2 separate regions of the Homo sapiens genome follow, and region 1 is linked to region 2. Evidence: promoter capture Hi-C in human tissues and cell types (Jung and others, 2019). All regions are on one chromosome and are shown on one strand. Each heading gives the region's core, a stretch centred on a gene start or on the middle of the fragment in contact. The rest is flanking DNA. Distances are from core to core; before and after follow the strand shown. Region 1 has its middle 30 kb from the start of FTMT. Region 2 holds the start of PRR16 (proline rich 16).

Region 1 (4,972 bases), core at 1,515-4,014, 1.4 Mb after region 2:
CCAGCTTCTTTACTGCAACCTGTTTTATCACCAAGGTCTTTATAACCTGTATCTTGTGCCAATTTCCTATCTCATCTGGTAACTTAGTATGCCTTAACCATCTGGGAATGCAGCCCAGTAAGTCTCAGCCTCATTTTACCCAGCTCCTATTCAAGATGGAGTTGCTCTGGTTCACAGGCCTCTGACAGAAGGAGAGGGTCTTTTAGCACCTTTGGTGCATAGGGCAATAGAGTCCTAAAATTATTTTGAGCAGATCAATCCAACAGAGGCATAAGGTAACAATAACAGATAATGTGAATGAGAACACAACAGGTAAAAGGAGCCTGCTTTGCAACCTGGGAAGCTGTTCCATTTGCTCTAAAATCACAGAGGATCATATATTGTTTATACAATGTGACATAATAAATTTTGAAAACTATCTGAAAACTGATCTAATTCTATCCCTAGTTCCTATGTCTTCAGTTGGAATCAAAATTGAAATTATCTTGCTTGGATAAGCATGCTTTCCACATGGCAGTTTACAGAGCAAAAAATAAACTATTTTTTATCAAAAAGAAAAATATAGAATAACCTAGTTAAAAGAATATTGATTTTTTTCTTATATAGCTGGCACAAATTAAAATCATACAGTAGAAGTCCAGCAGCTAACTCTGGAGTTTTCCCCGAATTTTTCAAGGATCTCCTCTTCCTATTTACCTGCTGTTCCTCCCTCTACCCAGCCTCAGATGCCCTAAATTTAGTGTTTCTCAAGTTTCAGAAATGTACTAATCTATTTCAATGTAAAAAAAAATGCTCTTTGAGGCTTCCTAGTATTGACAAATTATTTTTATTATTGTTTGTCCAATATGTATAAACACAAAGCTAAGTATAAACTCCTTATGCTTAGAGCTTATGGTTAGAACATCAATTCTAAAACCAAAATAAATATATACAAACAAAATTATAAAAGCAATAAAATTCAAATTAACATTAATTTAGTGTGGTAAATTATGCTATTTTGCTGCAACAAAATGTAAAGATGATACTTAACACACTGGTTTGTCATCTTAGTTCAGAATGCTTACGCTATCCTGTGATATCTGATGATTCAAGTATTCTAAGACTTCTCTATTAAAACTATTGGAAAATGTTCAATTGTGCAGTGCACTGTTTTGTAATTGGGCCTTTACTTGGTATTAGATGCATCATTTATGTACGAAGCTCTGCCTCTGTTCTTTTAATATTATTCTACATTTAAACTACCCCTTAGCTTAAACACATTATATTCACCAAGGCACAACTCTCTATGAGGGCAATTTTGCCCTACAAGGGACATTTGGTAGCATACAGAGACATTTTGATTGTTACAAAATGGAAGAAGGAATACTAGCTTCTAGTAAACAGAGGACAGATATTCTGCTAAACATCCTAAATGCAAGGATAGAGCCCCATGACAAAGAATTACCAAGTCCAAAATGTCAGTAGAGTGAAGATTGAGAAGCACAGCCAAGGCAAATACCAACTGTGAACAGTCAAGTCCTACTTGAGTCCTTGGTTATAAGTGGTTATCTGGATGATCCAAAATATGCTTATATCAATTTATTTCATATTTTTGGTTGAAATTTTTAAAAGAAATTTAAATTGGCATTCTACCTATCTAAAAATTATTGAGCTTCATCAGATATATAAAAATTAAAAACTATAAGAACCCAATGAGAGTTATCATTTTGAAGAAATTCATTTTCTTACATAATATTATTAAAAAATCACACAAGGCTCTGGGATTTTTTATTCTTAATCTAATTGTTTTAAAAATACCACTCTAAGAATTAGCCTGTGTTATATATACTTATAGAATTACTCTAAAGTGAATCACCTTCAGAAAATGTTTGTTAGTCACCTAATTGACTGTAATAACATACAAAAGAAACAGAATTTACTGCAGAATCCATGTTATAGTATAACGGAGCTGGATATACATTTCTAAAAAGGGGCGATGATCTAAGAAAGTTGGTAAACTAGAATTATAGATTAGTTTAAAATGATATGATAATTAAGAATCTTAATATCATCCCTAGTTTATCAGAAAAGCATTTATTGAACACTTGTTATGAGGCATCGTTTTTATAAACTTTAATCTCAGGTCAAGCACAGTGTATTTTTCCTCCCTACTAGTTTCCATGTCTGATGGGCTCCAGTCAGAAGGTCTGGGAAATAAATATTTGCCAAGGATAAAGAAAAAAGCAATGCTTTTAAGGCTAAAATTCTAGTTTGCTGCAACAGAAAATGTTTCAAAATAGTTTGCATTTCAGTTGCTTCTTAACATCTTCTTGCTAGTTGCAGCAAATTGTGGATCATCTTTAATACATTTACTGCTGCCTAAGAGGCAGTATTGATTAAGACACTGGCCTAGAATCAAGCAGTCTTCATTGGACATTTGATTGTTCTGACCGCTGATAGTGTGGCCTTAAGCCTATTCTTCCTATAGTCCATTTTTTATTTGCATAGTAGACATAACATTAATAGTTCTATTAGCTTTTTGATGGCTAAATGAGGTAAAAGAGAGTGCTTAGAAAAATATCTGGCACTTGATAAGCTCTCAGTAAGTGTTTGCTATAATTATTTCTTTATTTGAGTTGTTATATGAGGAATAATTAAAAGATTACAAAAATAGCAAATGAAGATGATTAAAGCCCCATTTTCAAAATGCAGCTGGATATTTGAAATGAACAGAATTATCCTGCCTAGAGTAAATCATTCTCTTAATTCTCTCTTGACAATAGTTCCACTGAAAATGTGCCCATTTACTATGCTTTAATTCAATTTTTTTCATTAATTCAAACAAATAAACATGTACTGAACACCCACTAAGTTCCAGAGCAGATGCAGTCTAATGTGGAGATGCAAAGAAAAATAAGGCAGAGTCTCTGTCTTCAAGAAATTAATGATGAAAAGGGAAATTGATATTGGCACAGAACCAAATGACCAGAAAAAATGCTTTAGCCCACTCCCTGATTCACAGGCTTACTTAAAAAATGTTAGTGAACATTTCATAGCAACTGATAATGCAGGTAAAACTAAGAGCAAAGAACTGTAGCTTGCATGCATTTGTATATGAAGAACTCCTTTTATGAAGAAAGATGCTGATTATAGGTTGGGAAAATAATCCCAAGCTTCTCTTGGAATTATTCTCTTAGAATTATCTCACTCCATAGTTTGCCTTTCTACTGTATTGTGCAGAAACACAATGTGGGTCCACAACACATACACACACACACACACACACACACACACACACACACACACAGCATTTAAGCATGCATTTTTTTTTCTTTTAACTTCATATACTGTTCAATAAAATACTCAGCATGGGTTCATCTTAAGATGGCCTCCAGTTAAATAAGATGGTGGAAATCAGTCCCAATAAAGAAAAGACAGAACAGACAACTGAAATCAGAAGTATTGCATTTAGAACACTCTTGCCATTTGCTTGATTCCCCACAGCGTTGTTCATGAAGCTTCCCCTGCAAATACTTTGGGTATTTATAGCCTTATCTAGCTTCTGCAATGTTCCTGGGATTTGTCTGCTAAGAGCCTTGAAAGGAAAAGCATTGTGAAGAGGTGAAAATGACAAAGTAGAGCTATATATGGAAAGTTAGGAGCAAATGATGCTTAAAAGTTAACAGAAGAACAGCAAAATAATCAGCATGCAATTATCCTTGGAGGAATATTTCCACCGGCAGAATTTAAATCATTGCACTTGTTCTTGTTATATTTATTATAATAATATTAAACCTGTAACACTTCTGGGGGACAAAAACCAATGTGGTCTTATGTCATTGATACATAATAACTGAGGATCTACATTGCAGTGTCATTTGGCTCTGTAAAAGGAAATCAGTTCTAACTTTTTGTATCTATAAAGGATGTGAGATTTTTCAACAACTTCGAAACTTACAAGTTAACCTGTCACACCAAATAGCCAAAACAATTTTAAGCAAGAAAACAAACCTAGAGGCATCGTACTTCCTGATTTCAAAATATGCTACAAAATGACACCAATCAAACAGTATGGTACTATCATTGAAAAAAATACACATATAGACCAATAGAACAGAATAAAGAGTCCAAAAGTAAATCCACTCATATACAGGCAACTCATCTTCAACAAGGATGCCAAGAATACACAATGGGGAGAAAGTAGTGTCTTCAATAAACGGTATTGAAGAAACTGGATAGTCACATGAAAAAGAAGAAAATCAAGCCGTTATCTTTCACCATATACAAAAATTAACTCGAGATGGACTAAAGATTTGAACATAAGATCTGATACAGTAAAACTAGGAGAAAACAGAAAATACTGGAAAATCTTCTTAACTTTGGTCTCAGGAATGATTTATTGAATGTAACACCAAGAGCACAAACAAAAAATCAAAAATAGACAAATTGGTTTATATGAAACTAAAAAGTTTCGGCACAGTACAGTAGAAAGGCAAACTGTGGAATGAGATAAAATATTTACTAGCCATATATCTGATAAGGGGTTAATATCCAAAATATATAAAAACTCCTCAAACTCAATAGCAAAATAACAAATAACCCTATAAAACAATAGGCAAAAGATTTGAATAGACATTTTTCAAAAGAATATATACAAATGTCCAACAGGTACTATACGAAAAAATGCTCAACGTTATTAATTATCAGGAAAATGCAAATCAAAACCACAGTGAGATATCACCTCACACCTGTTAGGTTGGCTATTAGTAAAAAAAAAAAAAAAAAAAAAAAAAAAAAAAAAAAAAAGATAAATGTTGGCAAGGATATGGAAAAAAAGAGAACTCTTATACTCTTGCATATTTTTGGTGGTAATGTAAAATGGTGCAGCCACTATAGAAACAGTATGGGCGTTCCTTAAAATATTAAAAATAGAACTATCACAAGATCCAGCAATCCTTCTTTTGGGGAAATATCTGAAGGGATTAAAATCAGG
Region 2 (4,532 bases), core at 1,541-4,040:
GGTTTGGTTGTGTACATTTGCAGCTAGCACTAGTACATTAACGAACTTACAGAAAGATTTACCAGAAATTTTATTAGGTGTCACTTTTGCTGTTTGGTCTCTATAACTGGAGTCTAAAACATCCTATATACTGATCTCTGAGAGAGTCTAGGATTACCCAAAGGAATGAAAGATTTTTCCATAGGGTAATACAAAAATAGGAAGTAAATACACTTGATTTATATTCATGGGCCCTTTTTATTCTGTCTTCTTCTCCTCAATATTTATAATTCCCTTTATAAAAGTTTCTTCTTTAGACATATTTTATGGAGATTTGCTTTAAGTGATCCTTAATGACTAGAAGATAGGGACAGACACCACTGCTGCAATCCTACCAGCTTTCTCAGTTTGGGCCTGGAAGCCAATTTTAACTTTTCCCTATTCAGTTAACTCTATATTGTATAAAGACATAGATAGATAGATGATAGTGATTATTTCAGAGTGAACTGTGATATGGGTGTGGGTGGTGTGTTTCTAAGCAATAATTATGATTTGATTTTAAGTCAGAATTATTTGTTTCAGTAGCAGCAGTGGATATCAGAGTATCAGAAGAGAACAGTTTTTTTTGTTTTGTTTTTGTGACGGAATCTCGCTCTGTCACCCAGACTGGAGTGCACTGGCACGATCTCAGCTCACTGCAAGCTCCACCTCCCGGGTTCAAGCAATTCTCTGCCTCAGCCTCCTGAGTAGCTGGGATTACAGGCTCCTGCCACCATGCCCAGCTAATTTTTGTATTTTTAATAGAGATGGGGTTTTGCCATCTTGGCCAGGGTGGTCTTGAACTCCTGACCTTGTGATCCACCCATCTCGGCCTCCCAGAGTGCTGGGATTACAGGCATGAGCCACTGTGCCTAGCCTGTTTTGTTTTTTTTTTTTTAATCTTTAGTGAATGAGATTCAGAGTAGCATGGACATCTTCTTATATTGTGGGAGGATTATTTTGTCACTGTGAGGGAAATCACAATTTCCTTTCCTCCTCTCCCATATCCTTGTCTAAAGTCACTTAACTTTGAGTTTGGCGGCTTTCTTACACACTTGCCTACTATTAAGAGTCAAAAATAATTCCAATCTAGAAGAATAGTACTTTCTCTTTTCCCCTACCATTAGCTTTTGCTAGTTTTGACAATTTTGGGGAGTCTGTAAACCTGATATAATTATTTTAATGTTATATTTTTTATAAAATAAAGAATTTGAGGAGAAAAAGGATGTTTTAAAAATCTAATTCTCCCTACCTCAGAGAACTCAAGCATATTACTTATTTCACACTTTTAATCATTTCTTCTCTTTTTCTTTTCTCCAGTTTGCATGCTGCAGACTTGTTCTTATAATCTCTTCTTAAGTCTTTCCAGCAGCATCTGCTTTTCACCTTTTCTCATTTCTTCCCCTGATTTTTCAATGCAGTTTTCAATGGTTTTCTTTTGACACCACTTTCAAATTTCAATTTTTTCTTCTGTTCTCTTTCTTCCTCTATATTCCACATATGACTTCCAAAGGTTTTGTAAAGATGAATTGTCCAGGATTAAGAGAGTGATTGATTAAGAGCCTACAGAACTGGGAAGAGGAGAGCTGCCAAGCTTTTCTTTATGTGTAGCACAGTGGAGCTACCCAGAGTGTGAGAAGCAAGAAACAGAGAGCCTTGCTAAGGCACGACGAAAAGGGGAAGCCTATTAAAAGAATGATCTGGAGGAGTGTGCAGTGAAGAAAATAAAGTAGAGCCAGCCTGCTGGGTCAGTAGCTAATAGCCCATGGGTTTACAACTAAGGAAGTTAAAATTCTAGCTAATGAGAATTGTAGACACCTACTGAGAGTGAACCGAAGGCTTCCTATTAACTTCCCTTCTTGGGTCTTTTTGACAGAACAGTCAGAAAGTTGTTTCCTATTTGTTTAGTAGCAAAAGAGTTGAAATGGAGGTTTAAAAAATGATGAAAGAGAAGTTGGAGGCAATCTCTTACTCAGCTCCTTCACGAGGTCCAAATACGATGTCTCCCCCACTCCACTCAAAATGTAAATCAGCATAGGTCACAAAAAGAGGAAGGACAGTTAAAAAAAAAAAAAAGAGTTGGGCCAAATAAGACATACAGCCAAGATGACTGAGACAATCAGAGAGGATTTGGGGTGTGGGGACTTCAAATTAATAAATCCGGTATTAGCTTTGTGGAATTAGCAGGATTAGGGTACCTCTTTCAAGAACACTGGTTGAATTTCATGGTTTCAATAGATGACCATTAGCTGTTATGTGCACCCCCCCCCCCCTTTTTTCTTGCAGAAGTTAAGAAGTCTGCTTAACTCGCAGGTCACCAAGAGATTGATTAAAGGCCTCTGGACATCATTTGGGTTTGGATAAATCTGTAGGGCCACTTTACAGACTGTCTCCAACTCCTGATCCCACTGTGGTTCTTTCTGAATTGATCCAGGTCCCTGCTAGCAAGTGAAGCAGAAAGAATCCAGGCTAGTTGTGAGATGACATACAGCAAGCAGGCTGAGATGATGGGGACATTTCAGAACCAAGAGGAGGGGGCGGGCAGGACACGGACTTGTCTCCCCCACCTTGATGCCAAGGTGGCATCTGGGAGATATCTCGAAGGGCAACGTCGAGGGGACTGCAAGCGTCAACCCTGGCGCGGCAGCACGGCGCCCCTCTCCGCGGGCGGGGAGCGAGCGCGTGTGCGCGAGAGCGCCGGGCGGCGGCGGGAGGAGGCGCAGGCGCGCTGCTCGCCCGTCTGCAGCCCCGAGCCGAGCGCCGCGTCTCGGGAGTTGATGGCAGCACCACTGTGCGGCCGCCCGGCCGAGCGCGGAGCGCAGCCACTCGCCGCTGCCCAGGGAGCGCCCAAGATGTGGGGGGACCGGGGCGGCAGCGGCCGTAGCAGCGCCAGGGACGGGGGCACGCAGCAGCCTCCGCTCGCCCGCCTGTCCTGACCTGCCTCGCTTGCCCCCAAAGAATGTCAGCCAAGTCCAAGGGGAACCCCTCCTCGTCCTGTCCAGCCGAGGGACCGCCGGCAGCCTCCAAAACCAAGGTGAAGGAACAGATCAAGATCATCGTGGAGGATTTGGAATTAGTCCTGGGCGACCTGAAGGACGTGGCCAAGGAACTTAAGGAGGTGAGAGGCGCAGGGGTGGGGAGGGAGTTCGGCACCCTTCGACCCCTCCGGGGTCCCCTTTCCGATTTTCAGCAGGGACAGCCAGATTTCCAAACTCCTGGGAAACTACAGAAAAGGCGCCTGCAGACGGACTTTCTTTGCTCCTGGAGTCCTGAGAGGAGTTGTTGTTGCACTTTTTAATTTTTTTTTTTAATCAGGAAGAAATCAACTAGTGTTTTAATCGATGGACCTGGGCTGGTGGGAGGGATGAACGCACGCGTGTCTCTGAATCTGTGTGTGTGACGACGGGGGAGAGGGTTAGCTGGGGGTGTGTCGGCAGAGGAAGTCGTGAGCAGCCCGGCTGGAGCGTGCAAGATGCTCCTCTCCTGCCCTATTGCTTCCCCAGAGTCCTTTGGCAAGTCCGCTGCCTATCTGTCAGCCTCCCCAAGTCAGGGCTGAAGAGGGGCCGGGTTCTGGGCCCTGGGCCAGATCAGGGAGGGCAGCCTGGAGGAAGCTTGGCTCAGACTACCCTCCCTGTCTCTCGAGCCTCGCTGTAGGGAAGGCGACCCGGGCTGCTGGCAGCCTTGGGGCTAAGGAGGGGGTCTGGGACTTTCTCACTTTCTCAGTTTCTGAAGCATCCCCTGCTCTCCTCCGAACGTCGTTACCAGTAACTCTGGGCCTTCCCGCCACCCTACCTCTGCTTCCTTCCTTCCACCCTGTCGCCACTTGGCATTGAACCCGAGAAGCAGGACGCGCAGGAGAGTGTATGTGTGGCCGGGGTCTTGCCATTGGCGTCCTGGCTCTCTGCAGCTGGGACTGCTTCGGTTCTTCCCCGCTTTTCCTATCCCACTTCGGTTCAGCCCTACTCCCGCCCGCCCCTAGCCCCAGGTGATCCAGATGGAAAGAAGCAGAGAAGGTGTCAGGGCTGAGGCTGCGTAACTCAGGCGGCGGCTCCGGGCGGGGGCGGGGGCCGGGCTGGGAGGGGTGGGGTCTCCCGAGCCAGGCTGGCTGCCGGCGGCGTCGCGGAGCTGGTAGCAGAGTCCCAGCGCGCCGCTCACTACTGAATGGGGTCCTGGTGCGGTTCTCGGTGAGGGAGTCCGCAGCTCCGCTGCGTGAGAGCTAAGACTAGAACTTCGAAGGTGGCGGTGGCTGCAGCGGGAAAAGGGGTGGGGCGTAGTCTAGGTCCAAAATTGTAATCCTGTTTCTGAAGCCAACGGGGAGGAGACTGAGGGTTGTTTGGATGACTGGCCTCTAGAGATTAACCTCCTGTATTCAATTTCCAAACCAAATTTCAAGAGCCCCCTCGTCTTCCTCCCCTTCCCCCGTTACCTCTATGAACTGAACTCTGCATTTGTTACCTAATGCAAGTCTGTTAAAATGGGCCATTCGTCACCAGGGTTAAGTTTGCCAGTGGTAA

Evidence for each region. The method cuts DNA at HindIII sites, captures the fragments that hold promoters and counts their contacts. A contact is called where the count stands out against the background at its distance.
Region 1: a contact is called between a fragment that was not itself captured here and the fragment with the promoter of PRR16 in region 2, in 1 of the 25 tissues and cell types used here (dorsolateral prefrontal cortex).

The regions. Positions count from the first base shown.
Region 1 is chr5:121,879,881-121,884,852 of GRCh38, forward strand. No RefSeq gene overlaps it. Among named protein-coding and RNA genes, the nearest start is that of FTMT, 30 kb to the left of the region's middle. The HindIII fragment of the contact is 3,804 bases long and covers 863-4,666 here.
Region 2 is chr5:120,461,510-120,466,041 of GRCh38, forward strand. PRR16 (proline rich 16) reads left to right here and starts at 2,791. Exons shown (of 2, transcript NM_001300783.2): 1 at 2,791-3,136. The coding sequence starts at 2,978. RefSeq lists a silencer at 2,710-2,759 and an enhancer at 3,165-3,666. The HindIII fragment of the contact is 4,324 bases long and covers 312-4,532 here.